Regions from separate parts of the Homo sapiens genome. Here region 2 is linked to region 1. The links are contacts of gene promoters, found by promoter capture Hi-C in human tissues and cell types (Jung and others, 2019). All regions are on one chromosome and are shown on one strand. Each heading gives the region's core, a stretch centred on a gene start or on the middle of the fragment in contact. The rest is flanking DNA. Distances are from core to core; before and after follow the strand shown.

Region 1 (4,855 bases), core at 1,789-4,288:
TATGTATCACCCTGAAAGGTATTTAAGGACAGACATAAATAATTTTACTTTGAAATCCTTAGATTTTTGGTTACAGTATATGATAGACAAAAAAGAAAGCTCTTATAAAATGAGATTTTTCTGGGCTCCAAGTCCCTTTCTCTGCACTGTATTTTAATAATTACAAAAATAAAATCATTTAAAAATAAGACAATTTTAAAAGCACATATATGGGAGAATATGGCTATAAAGGAGTGGCACAGGGGAGGTTTTTGGGGTGATGGAACTGTTCTGCATCTTGATTGTGTGATTTCAGATTGTGAGAGTGGTTCTACACTCTAAGTGTATTAAAATGGTACACAAAAATAAAAAGTCAATTTTACTGTATGTTAATTTTTAATTAATTAATTAATTAATTTTTTTTTGTTGTTGAGAGAGTCTCACTCTGTTGCCCAGGCTGGAGTGCAGTGGTGTGATATCTGCTCACTTCAGCCTCCACCTCCCGGGTTCAAGAATTTCTCCCGCCTCAGCCTCCCAAGTAGCTGGGATTACAGGCACATACCACCACACCTGGCTAATTTTTGTATTTTTAGTAGAGACGGGGTTTTACCATCTTGGCCAGGCTTGTCTCAAACTCCTGGTCTCAAGTGATCCGCCCACCTTGGCCTCCCAAAGTGCTGGGATTACAGGCGTGAGCCACTGCACCTGGCCCTGCTGTATATTAACTTTTAAAAGAAAACTGGAAAAAAGCACATATGCAATAGAATCAAATATAAACTGCACTATATTCAAAATATCATATGTAACAAATACCATACATCTGATTAAATATAGGGCAAATGCAGGCCTCACTTCCTCTCTTTGGTGTATTCTCGTATCTAAAAAGATTTTTGTCAATCTTTACTTTTGTGGTTTGTATTATCAAAACAATAGGCATCTTGAATGCACTTTTTCTTTTTTTCTTTTTTTTTTTTTGAGACGGAGTCTTGCTCTGTCGCCCAGGCTGGAGTGCAGTGGTGCGATCTCGGCTCACTGCAAGCTCCGCCTCCTGGGATCACGCCATTCTCCGGCCTCAGCCTTCCGAGCAGCTGGAACTACAGGCGCCCGCCACCACGCCCGGCTAATTTTTGTATTTTTAGTAGAGACGGTGTTTCACCGTGTTAGCCAGGATGGTCTTGATCTCCTGACCTTGTGATCCGCCCGCCTCGGCCTCCCAAAGTGCTGGGATTACAGGCGTAAGCCACCGTGCCCGGCCTTGAATGCACTTTTTCAAACTATATATGCCCAGCAGAAAATTCTAATGCAATCTCCTGATACGTAGTCATAGAGTAATTTCGTCCAAGTCTCACATTTCATGGCCACCACCTCAGGTGTCCTGATAGGTCCGTATGACTAAATCATGGAGACCGGAAACAGAAAAAACAGATAGGTAAGTAAAAAACCACAAGGCATCTTGTGTGTCAGACTAACAAGTTTAGACTCTTTTAAGGCTTACTGTTTTGCTATCAGAGTACCAATAAGATATTTAGTATAATAACATTTATTACTTAGAGAATTACTACTGGCCAGGCAGGGTGGCTCATGCCTCTAATCCTACCACTTTGGGAGGCTGAGGCAGGCGGATCACCTGAAGTCAGGAGTTCGAGACCAGCCTGGCCAATATTGTGAAACCCTGTCTTTACTAAAACACAAAAATTAGCCGGGTGTGGTGGTGCAGGCCTGTAGTCCCAGCTACTTGGGAGGCTGAGGCATGAGAATCACTTGAACCCAGGAGATGGAGGTTGCAGTGAGCTGAGATCACACCACTGCACTCCAGCCTGGGCGACAGAGCAAGATTGTCTAAAATATATACACACACACACACACACACACACACACACACACACACACACATACATATACATATATATAAACATAAAACAATAAAGTTACTACTATAACAGAGTGGAAGAAAATCTGGGAAAAATAAAGGAGCAAAACAAGTAGTCTACAGTAAATTAATCCTGTATACTTTAGTGTTATAAAATTTGGTTACCTCTATTTATTCTCGTTCAAAACTCTGGACTTAATCTCACCTTCTGACTCGTATTCACTTGCTTTCTGCTTCAAGTCCTCTATTACCAGGTAGACATCCCTGTCCCGGACCCTGTTGCGTTCTGAAAGGTGATGTAAAATCTCTGTGGTCCGTGGGTTCACCTCATACTGTGGAATAGGATGATCTCCAAATATTTTTTTTAACCACGCAGCAACCTAACCATTAAAAGAAAGACAAATATTATAAGCCTTGTTTACTGTAATGGCTCGATGAGAATATGACAAAGAAGTGATCAAAAGCAAACTAAATGCTTTCTGTGACTATTTTGGAGTCCTACTTCACAACCTCACTTGTCTTTAGGGAGATACTAGATATCAGGAAATAAAAAGTGAGCAAGTACACAAAGAAACGTACAATACTGAAAATTACCAGAGAACAATCCGTTCTTTTCCAAATCTGCAAAAGCGGTACAGGCTAACAATTTGCCTCGCTTGAAAAACCTTAAAGCTTAATAGACCATAATAATGCGAACGCATTATTAGACCGTGCATGGTCTGAAAAAAGCAATTGTCCCTCGATCACCAGAAGCCCCGCCGCGCCGGGAGGCTCCCAGTGTTGGGATGCAGGGCGCGGAAGCAGTTCAGATGTGGAAGCCGCCGGGCTGAGCAGCGAACCGGAAGGCGGGTTTGGCTTCATAAGTCCCACTCCAGAGTCTGTGGACACGGGCTGCTCAACGCCTCTCCCGGGCCAGATCCAAACAAGGGGAGGCCCGGGCAGGAAGGGAAAGGCCTTCAGGAGAGTCTAAGCACGGGGGGCTTGCAGATAGTGACGGCGGCACTAAAAGACGGATGTGTGGAATAGGGGAGAGAAAAGTAGACGTGGCGCGCACAGGAGACCCGCTGTCGGCGCGGGGGTGTCAAAAACGCGTTTTCCAGGAGGCCAACGATCCCCATTCCCGCCCCATCACCTGCGTTTCTCTCTCCTCCTGCGGCTCCATAGCTGCGGCTCCCGCCACTTTACTAGGAACTCCTAGCGGGAGATGCGCCCCGCTCACTCCCTAGGCCCCGCCCACACGCCGTTGGCACCCGCCCCTCGCCGGGCCCGGGATTTCTGGGAGTTGTGGTTTTACCTGAGACTCCTGGCCGTTGAGCCCCTGTGCAAGGCTGGTCGAAGGCTCTGGCATTGCAAGCCTCGCTTCGTTGCCACTTCCCAGCTCTTCCCGCCTTCCGCGGTATAATCAACACTACGAGAGATAGAGCCGCCTAGAACCAGGTTGTTTTTTCTTTCTTTTATTTTTATTTCTTGTTTGAATCACTTGTCGTTAAAAAAAAGTACTTGAAACGTTTGGTTCTTGCTTAGCAAGATGTTTGTGTTTCTTCCACATTGATTGCATCCACTCAGAATTTATATTCTACCCTGGCAATATGAGCTGAGGCAATCTTAACTTGATCCGTTAGTTCCCCCAACCTAAAAACTAGGGACATTTTTTTTTTTTGAGACAGAGTCTCGCTTTGTCGCCCAGGCTGGAGTGCAGTGGCATGATCTCGGCTCACTGCAACCTCTGCCTCCTGGGTTCAAGCGATTCTTCTGTCTCAGCCTCCCAAGTAGCTGGGACTACGGGCAAGCGCCACCACGCCTGGCTAATTTTTGTGTTTTTAGTAGAGACGGGGTTTCACCATATTGGCCAGGCTGGTCTCGAACTCCTAACCTCATGATCCGCCCACCTCGGCCTCCCAAAGTGCTGGGATTACAGGCGTGAGCCAGCGCGCCCAGCTTTTTTTTTTTTTTTTTTTTTTTTGAGATGGAGTCTCTGTTGTTCAGGCTGGAGGGCAGTGGCACGATCTCGGCTCTCGGCTCTCAGCTCACTGCCACCTCTGCTTCCCGGGTTCAAGCGATTCTCCTGCCTCAGCCTTCCGAGTAGCTGGGATTACAGGTGTGCATCACCACGCCCAGCTAATTTTTTGTATCTTAGTAAAGATGGGATCTCATCAGGTTGGCCAGCTTGGTCTCGAACTCCTGACTTCAGGTGATCCGCCCGCCTTGGCCTCCCAAAGTGCTGGGATTACAGGCACTGCGCCCGACCTTTTCTTTTCTTTTTGAGATGGAGTGTTTCTCTGTCGCTTAGGCTGGAGTGCAGAGTGACATGATCTTGGCTCACTGCGACCTCCAACCCCCGTCCCCAGGCTCAAGCAATTCTCCTGTCTCATCCTCTCTAGTAGCTGGGATTACAGGCTTGTGCTAGCATGCAGGGATAATTTTTTTATTTTTAGTAGAACGGGGGGTTTCACCACGTTGATCAGGCTGGTCTCAAACTCCTGACCTCAAGTGATCTGCCTGCCTCGGCCTCTCAAAGAGCTAGGATTACAGGTGTGAGCCAACACACCCAGCCTAAAATGATTTTCTTTTCAAAGGAAACTTACTAGCAAGCCAAGCTTATTTATTATTTATTTTATTTTATTTTTAGAGACAGGGTCTTGCTCTTTCGTCCAAGCTGGAGTATAGTGGTGATCACAGTTCACTGCAACCTTGAACTCCTGGGCTCAAGCAATCCTCCCGCTTCAGCCTCCTTAGTAGCTGGGACTATAGGCGTGCACCACCACACCCAGCTAACTTTTTGTATTTTTTGTAGAAAGAGGGTCTCACTATGTTGCCCAGGCTGTTTTTGAACTCCTGGCCCCAAGTGATGCTCCCACTTGGGCCTCTCAAAGTGCTGGGATTACAAGCATGAGGCACCACACCCAGCCTGTCTTGCTTATTCTTTTTGCTTCAAACATATCTCTGCTCTGGCTGGATGCGGTGCCTCACACCTATATTCTCAGCACTTTGGGAGGCCGAGGCAGG
Region 2 (5,425 bases), core at 899-3,398, 370 kb before region 1:
GACCGCTTCTTCCTGGAGACGCTGGAGCTGGGTGAGCTGCGCAAGGTGCGCCTGGAGCACGACAGCAGTGGCTACTGCTCAGGCTGGCTGGTGGAGAAGGTGGAGGTCACCAACACCAGCACCGGCGTGGCCACCATCTTCAACTGTGGCAGGTGGCTGGACAAGAAGCGGGGGGATGGACTCACCTGGAGAGACCTCTTCCCTTCTGTCTGAGGGGCTAGGGCCCCCACCCTCTCACTGAGATGCCCCAATCTCACATTTCTGCCCTCCACCTTGGCGGTCAGCAGCCCTTCAAAGCCTCTAGCATTGGCACTGGGGGCTAGCAGTCCACTGAGAACTTCATGGGGTCCTGCTCCCCACCCTACCCCCAGTTTATTGAACCTACAGTGATAATAATTAGCATGTGTCATAATCTGTGGCTGCCCAAAAATAATTTTTTGTATTTCCTTTTTCTGTAATAACAGTAGTGACCAGGCTGGGACTTGCTGCAGAGTGTGGATGAGAAATTGAGTCTTCACCCAGGGGATAGAAGTGGAGAAGCAGAGGCCATCAAGATGGTGTATTTTAAGCAAAAACTAATTAACACTTTTCCCCAAAAAAGCTAGGCTAATTAAATTATTACCAACCATATCCTATAAAGAACTCATCTTAGCATCTGCTTGCTAAGAAGTGTATACTTTTCCCCAGTTTCAATAAACCCAGTGGCAAGTGGAGAAAAACCTCAGGAAGAAGTGTTTTGCCGGGGGATTTATGAGCCTGTGAAAAGTAGATAATTCTTTCCATCACTTTACAGAGAACGCATTGGCAAGTGCCTGCTGGTTATCCCAGCCTGTGCTAACACAGTCAGGACTGGACACAAAGGTGATAGGGATGGCACCTGCAACAGCCTGGTCACTGGCACTCTAAGGCCGGGAGAGAAAGCAGGGTCATTGAGGTTATTTGGTGATTATCACCTGTGGCTCTCTGTGGGCAAGGTTTGGACTGAGAGCTGAGAGGGGCTTGGGAACAAAGTGAAGACCTGGTCTTTACCCTCAAGGGGAATGTGACCTTGATGGAGAGGCAGCAGGAGAACTGTACATTTGAGTACCCACACAGATTCACACATGCACACACACTCTCCCTGATCGGCAGTCACAAAGTCACAGCAAGACTTCGCAGAGCTCAGCACCTAACTTCTGATTTTCCTGTAGAGAAAAGGACAGCAACAAGGTGGGTCGGGCTGGAAAATATCCCTACAGGAGGGCACCCCAGGACCAGTGTTTCTGCCACTTTGCTGTCCCTGCACCCTCTGTCCCAGAAAGGTCTAAACTCGCAGTGAGGCTTCAGGACCCTGAGGCAAGTTCAGGCCCCTCTCAGAGATCTCTCAGAGAGAGGTTAAATGCACAGGCTCTGGGGGCAACCAGCCTGGGTTTAAATCCCCGTTCTGCCTCTTTGCAACTGTGAGAACTTGGGCACATTATTTTCTCTCTCTGGGCCTCAGTTTCCTTATCTGTAACACAGGGGGAATGATCACAATGCCCACCTTGTAGGTTATGATGAGGACTAAATGAGTTCATGTGTATGTAGTTTAAATTCAGTGCCTACACCAGATAGTGAGTATATCCACCATGCTGAACACGCAGGACTTGGGGGATGGGGAGGGGAAGATGGCATCATTAAACAGCTTTGTTTCCATCTCCTTCTGTGGAACTGGTTCTTCCCCTGTCCCTAGATGAAAATTTAGACAAGCCTCACAACTCCTGTGGACTCCAGTAGGTAATAAAAAGTCCAACAAACACTTTAAGTCATGAAATCCATCTCCATTCTATAATTTAAATGTCCAGCCCCAAAGTAAAGATTAAAACATCAAACTTAAAATTAAGCTTCCTGCCATCTCCTGGCTCAGTCCCGTCACAGGTGGGCCCACAGTGAGGGAGGGGTGTGAGTGTGTGTGCAGTGAGTGTATTATGTAGTGTGCAGGTATAAGGTATAGTGTGTGTTTGAATGTGTGGGTGTACACATTAGTATATATGTGGTGTGTGCCTGTATGTGAATCACTGGGCATGTGTGTGTACATGAGTGTGGGTGTGTGTAGGGTGAATGTATGCATGTGAAGATGTGTGAGAGCATGTGTGTGCGCACACATCAGTGTGTGTGCAGGTGTGTGTGCGTGCATGCGAATATGTGTGCATGTGTGTACACAAGTGTGGGTGTGGTGTGTGTGCATGCAAGTGTATCTGGGTGTGTGAAGGCATGTGTGTGTGAACACGAGTGCAGTGTGTGCATGCATGTGAATCTGTGTGCCTGTGTGTGTATACAAGTGTGTGATTGTGCTGTGCATGCATGTGAATCTGTGTGTGTGTACATGAATGTGGGTGTGATGTGTGCATGCATATGTGTGTATGTGAGTCAGCCTCCCCTCTCTTCCCCTGCCTTGCCCTGTCCCTCCTCCTCCTGCCTTTTGGTGACCCAGGGTTTCAGACTCCTGCGGGAGGAAGAGAGGTGAAGGCAGCAGGCAGCTTCCTGTCTGAGGGCTGCTATTGTGGCTAGTGTCTTTGTTTCCAGACCTGGCAGGTGTTTAGACTTTCATGAGCACTTGTGTGGGTTCACCCTCCACACTGTCCTCTTGTTTAGGATCTGAGACACTCCACAAGAGGCCCTCGGGCACCCTTCTCTCTGACACACTCCAGCCGTTCAGGCCACTCACCTCTCTGTGACCGGGGCCAGCCCATCTCATCCCAGCCATGTCTCCAGAGTGGGCAGGCAGCTTGTCTGCCGTGTATGGTCACACCCCATCTCACATAGCCCTGTTGAAGCCCCAGTCGCTTGCCTCAGATTCAAGGGCAGCCAGGAGGCAGGGCGCACGCTCAGCCCCACAGCAGGCCTCTCAGGATGTCCTGCCCTCGAATCCACTGCCTCCTCTCAGCCTCCCCATTCCCTGTCAGGACCTGGAGATGAGTGTGCAGCCCAGAGTCCAAACTGGTTCTCTGCCCTGTCCTTCTGGCAAGAGATACACAGGGCTCTCACTGCAGAGTGTGGCATCTGTGGGTGACTCGGCCACTGCTGGTACAGGAGGAACCCGTTACCATCCTGTTGCTGGTGTGTCCTGTGAATTTTGGCTTACCATCGATGGGGTAGTGCTGGCCTGGCTCAACAACATACCCCAGGACCTTAGAGAGCTTTCCGGCCATCCTTTACCTGCCCTGCTGGCTCGGCTTTCCTCAGAGGACTTGGGATCTGAGGAAACTATTGCTTCGAGAGCTCCATTAAAACTCATTAATACCTTTGGTCCATTCCGGGGCACTTTCTTACCCACAGGCCTCCCCACCCCCTGCCCCCTACCTGGTTCTCCAAGTCCCTGGACCTGGGCCATCTCCATCTGGGCAAGTCGCCCACAGCTCTGTGCCCAGCAGGGTGGCCCCCAGCAATGTCACACACACTGTCCTCTCTGCTGTCCTCTGCCAGGGCTGATCTGTGCCTGAAGTCTCCTTGCCACCCATCCATTCCTCCACCCTACCAGGCACTGTGCTTCACATTCTTTTTTTATTATTATGATTTGTTTTGTTTTTTGAGATGATGTCTCACTCTGTCACCCAGGCTGGAGTGCAGTGGCACGATCTCGGCTCACTGCAACCTCCACTTGCTGGATTCAAGTGATTCTCATGTGTCAGCCTCCCAAACAGCTAGGATTACAGGCACATGCAACCAGGCCCAGCTAATTTTTGTATTTTTAGTTGAGATGAGGTTTCACCATGTTGGCCAGCCTGGTCTTGAATTCCTGACCTCAGGTGATCCACCCACCTCGGCCTCCCAAAGTCCCCACTCCCGGCCCACATTCTTTTTTTTTAATTGATGCATAATAATTATACACATCTGTGGGGTACATATGGTATTTTGATACATGTATACAATCTGTAATGATTAAATCAGGGTAATTGGCATATCCATCACCTCGAATGTTTATCATTTCCTTGTATTGGGAACATTTCAAATCTGCTCTTCCAACTAATTTGAAATATACAATAAATTATTGTTAACTAGAGTCACCCTACTGTGCTGTAAAACTCTAGAACATATTCCTCCTATCTAACTGCATGTTTATACCCATGAACCGGCCTCTCTGTATTCCTCCCAACCCCATTCCCAGCTTCTGATAACTATCATTCTACTCTCTACCTCCATGAGAACAACTTTCTTATCTCCCACTTCTGAGTGAGATCATGACCTGCTGCTCTGCTGCTGAAGGGCAATGGCAGCAGTCCAGGGCAGGTGGCCCTCAGGTTCTGGGGAGCACACACTTCAGGTCCCTTTGTCCCCAGGGGAGACTCCTTGGCATGCTGCATCACCCATCCCTCAAGGTATAGGATACTACGTGGGCTAGAGTGCTGGGGACTTGGTCACACTCCTGGGTCCAGCCATTGTTGCAATGCTGCAGCCCCCTGGGTAGATGTGGGGGTTGTGGGTGGGTCTCCAGGGATGTGGAGATGCAGGGGTTTTTGGGCCCTGGGCAGGATATAGTCTGGTGGTGGCTGGGTTCTTAAGATGGTGCTGTGCTGCAGCTACTTTGATCTCAGGGGGTGTGTGGACTCGGCATGAACACGATCTCTGGAGAAATGCAGTCGCATGGGCTCCAGGCAGCTCTCCATACTTGTCTCAGGGCCCATGAGGGCTGAAGGACTCTCCCATGATGAGGACTGCAGGAGTCTGCAGTGTAATGTGGACCACTGGGGATCTCTTGCTTACCTTTTCCCCTCCTGGCTCTGAGCCAATCCCTGCCTTCTCCTTCCATGCTTTAGAAGTTCCCTGTCACTTCCCTGCTGAATTCTAGTGTTCTCTCTTGGAAGCTCTATTTGATGTTTGGTTATCTACTCGCTGTTTTGGTTGTTCTTGGTGGAGGAGGCAAGTTCTGGGCCCCTCTAATCAGGCTCCTGGAAGCCCCTTTTCTGTGCATCACATTCTTTACATCTCAACTCAAGGCCTCCAATCACTCCAGGAAACATTTCCATTACCCCTCCCCCAAGACAGAGCTAGAAGCCCACCCACATCTATGAGAAGTATGTTGGAATTGTGTGTCTCCTCATGTGTCTTCCTAACTGGAGTGTGAGTCCTTAAGAAGAAAAGCTAGGTCTCACTCATCTCTGTAACCCCAGCACTTAGCACAGGCCCCAGGGCATAGTGTGGGTACTAAGTGCATGTGTGGTGAATGGATGGATAGATAGATGAATGGATGGGTAGGTGGGTGGATGGGGGGATGGGTGGATAGATGGGTGGGTGGGTGGATGGATGGATGGATGGGTGGGTGGATGGGTGAAAGGGTAGATAGATGGGTGTGTGGATGAATGGATGAATGGATGGTTGGATGGGTGGGTGGATGGATGGATGGATGGGTGGGTGGATGGGTGAAAGGGTAGATAGATGGGTGTGTGGATGAATGGATGAATGGATG

Evidence for each region. The method cuts DNA at HindIII sites, captures the fragments that hold promoters and counts their contacts. A contact is called where the count stands out against the background at its distance.
Region 2: a contact is called between a fragment that was not itself captured here and the fragment with the promoter of HAUS1 in region 1, in 1 of the 25 tissues and cell types used here (heart right ventricle).

Annotation. Positions count from the first base shown.
Region 1 is chr18:46,102,568-46,107,422 of GRCh38, reverse strand. HAUS1 (HAUS augmin like complex subunit 1) reads right to left here and starts at 3,038. Exons shown (of 9, transcript NM_138443.4): 1 at 2,982-3,038; 2 at 2,055-2,229. The coding sequence starts at 3,011. It also overlaps a transcript of ATP5F1A not described here. RefSeq lists an enhancer at 2,634-2,723 and a silencer at 3,114-3,213. The HindIII fragment of the contact is 15,712 bases long and covers 1-4,855 here.
Region 2 is chr18:46,472,260-46,477,684 of GRCh38, reverse strand. LOXHD1 (lipoxygenase homology PLAT domains 1) reads left to right here. Exons shown (of 41, transcript NM_001384474.1): 41 at 1-412. The coding sequence ends at 213. Among named protein-coding and RNA genes, the nearest start is that of ARK2C, 140 kb to the right of the region's middle. The HindIII fragment of the contact is 6,562 bases long and covers 1-5,425 here.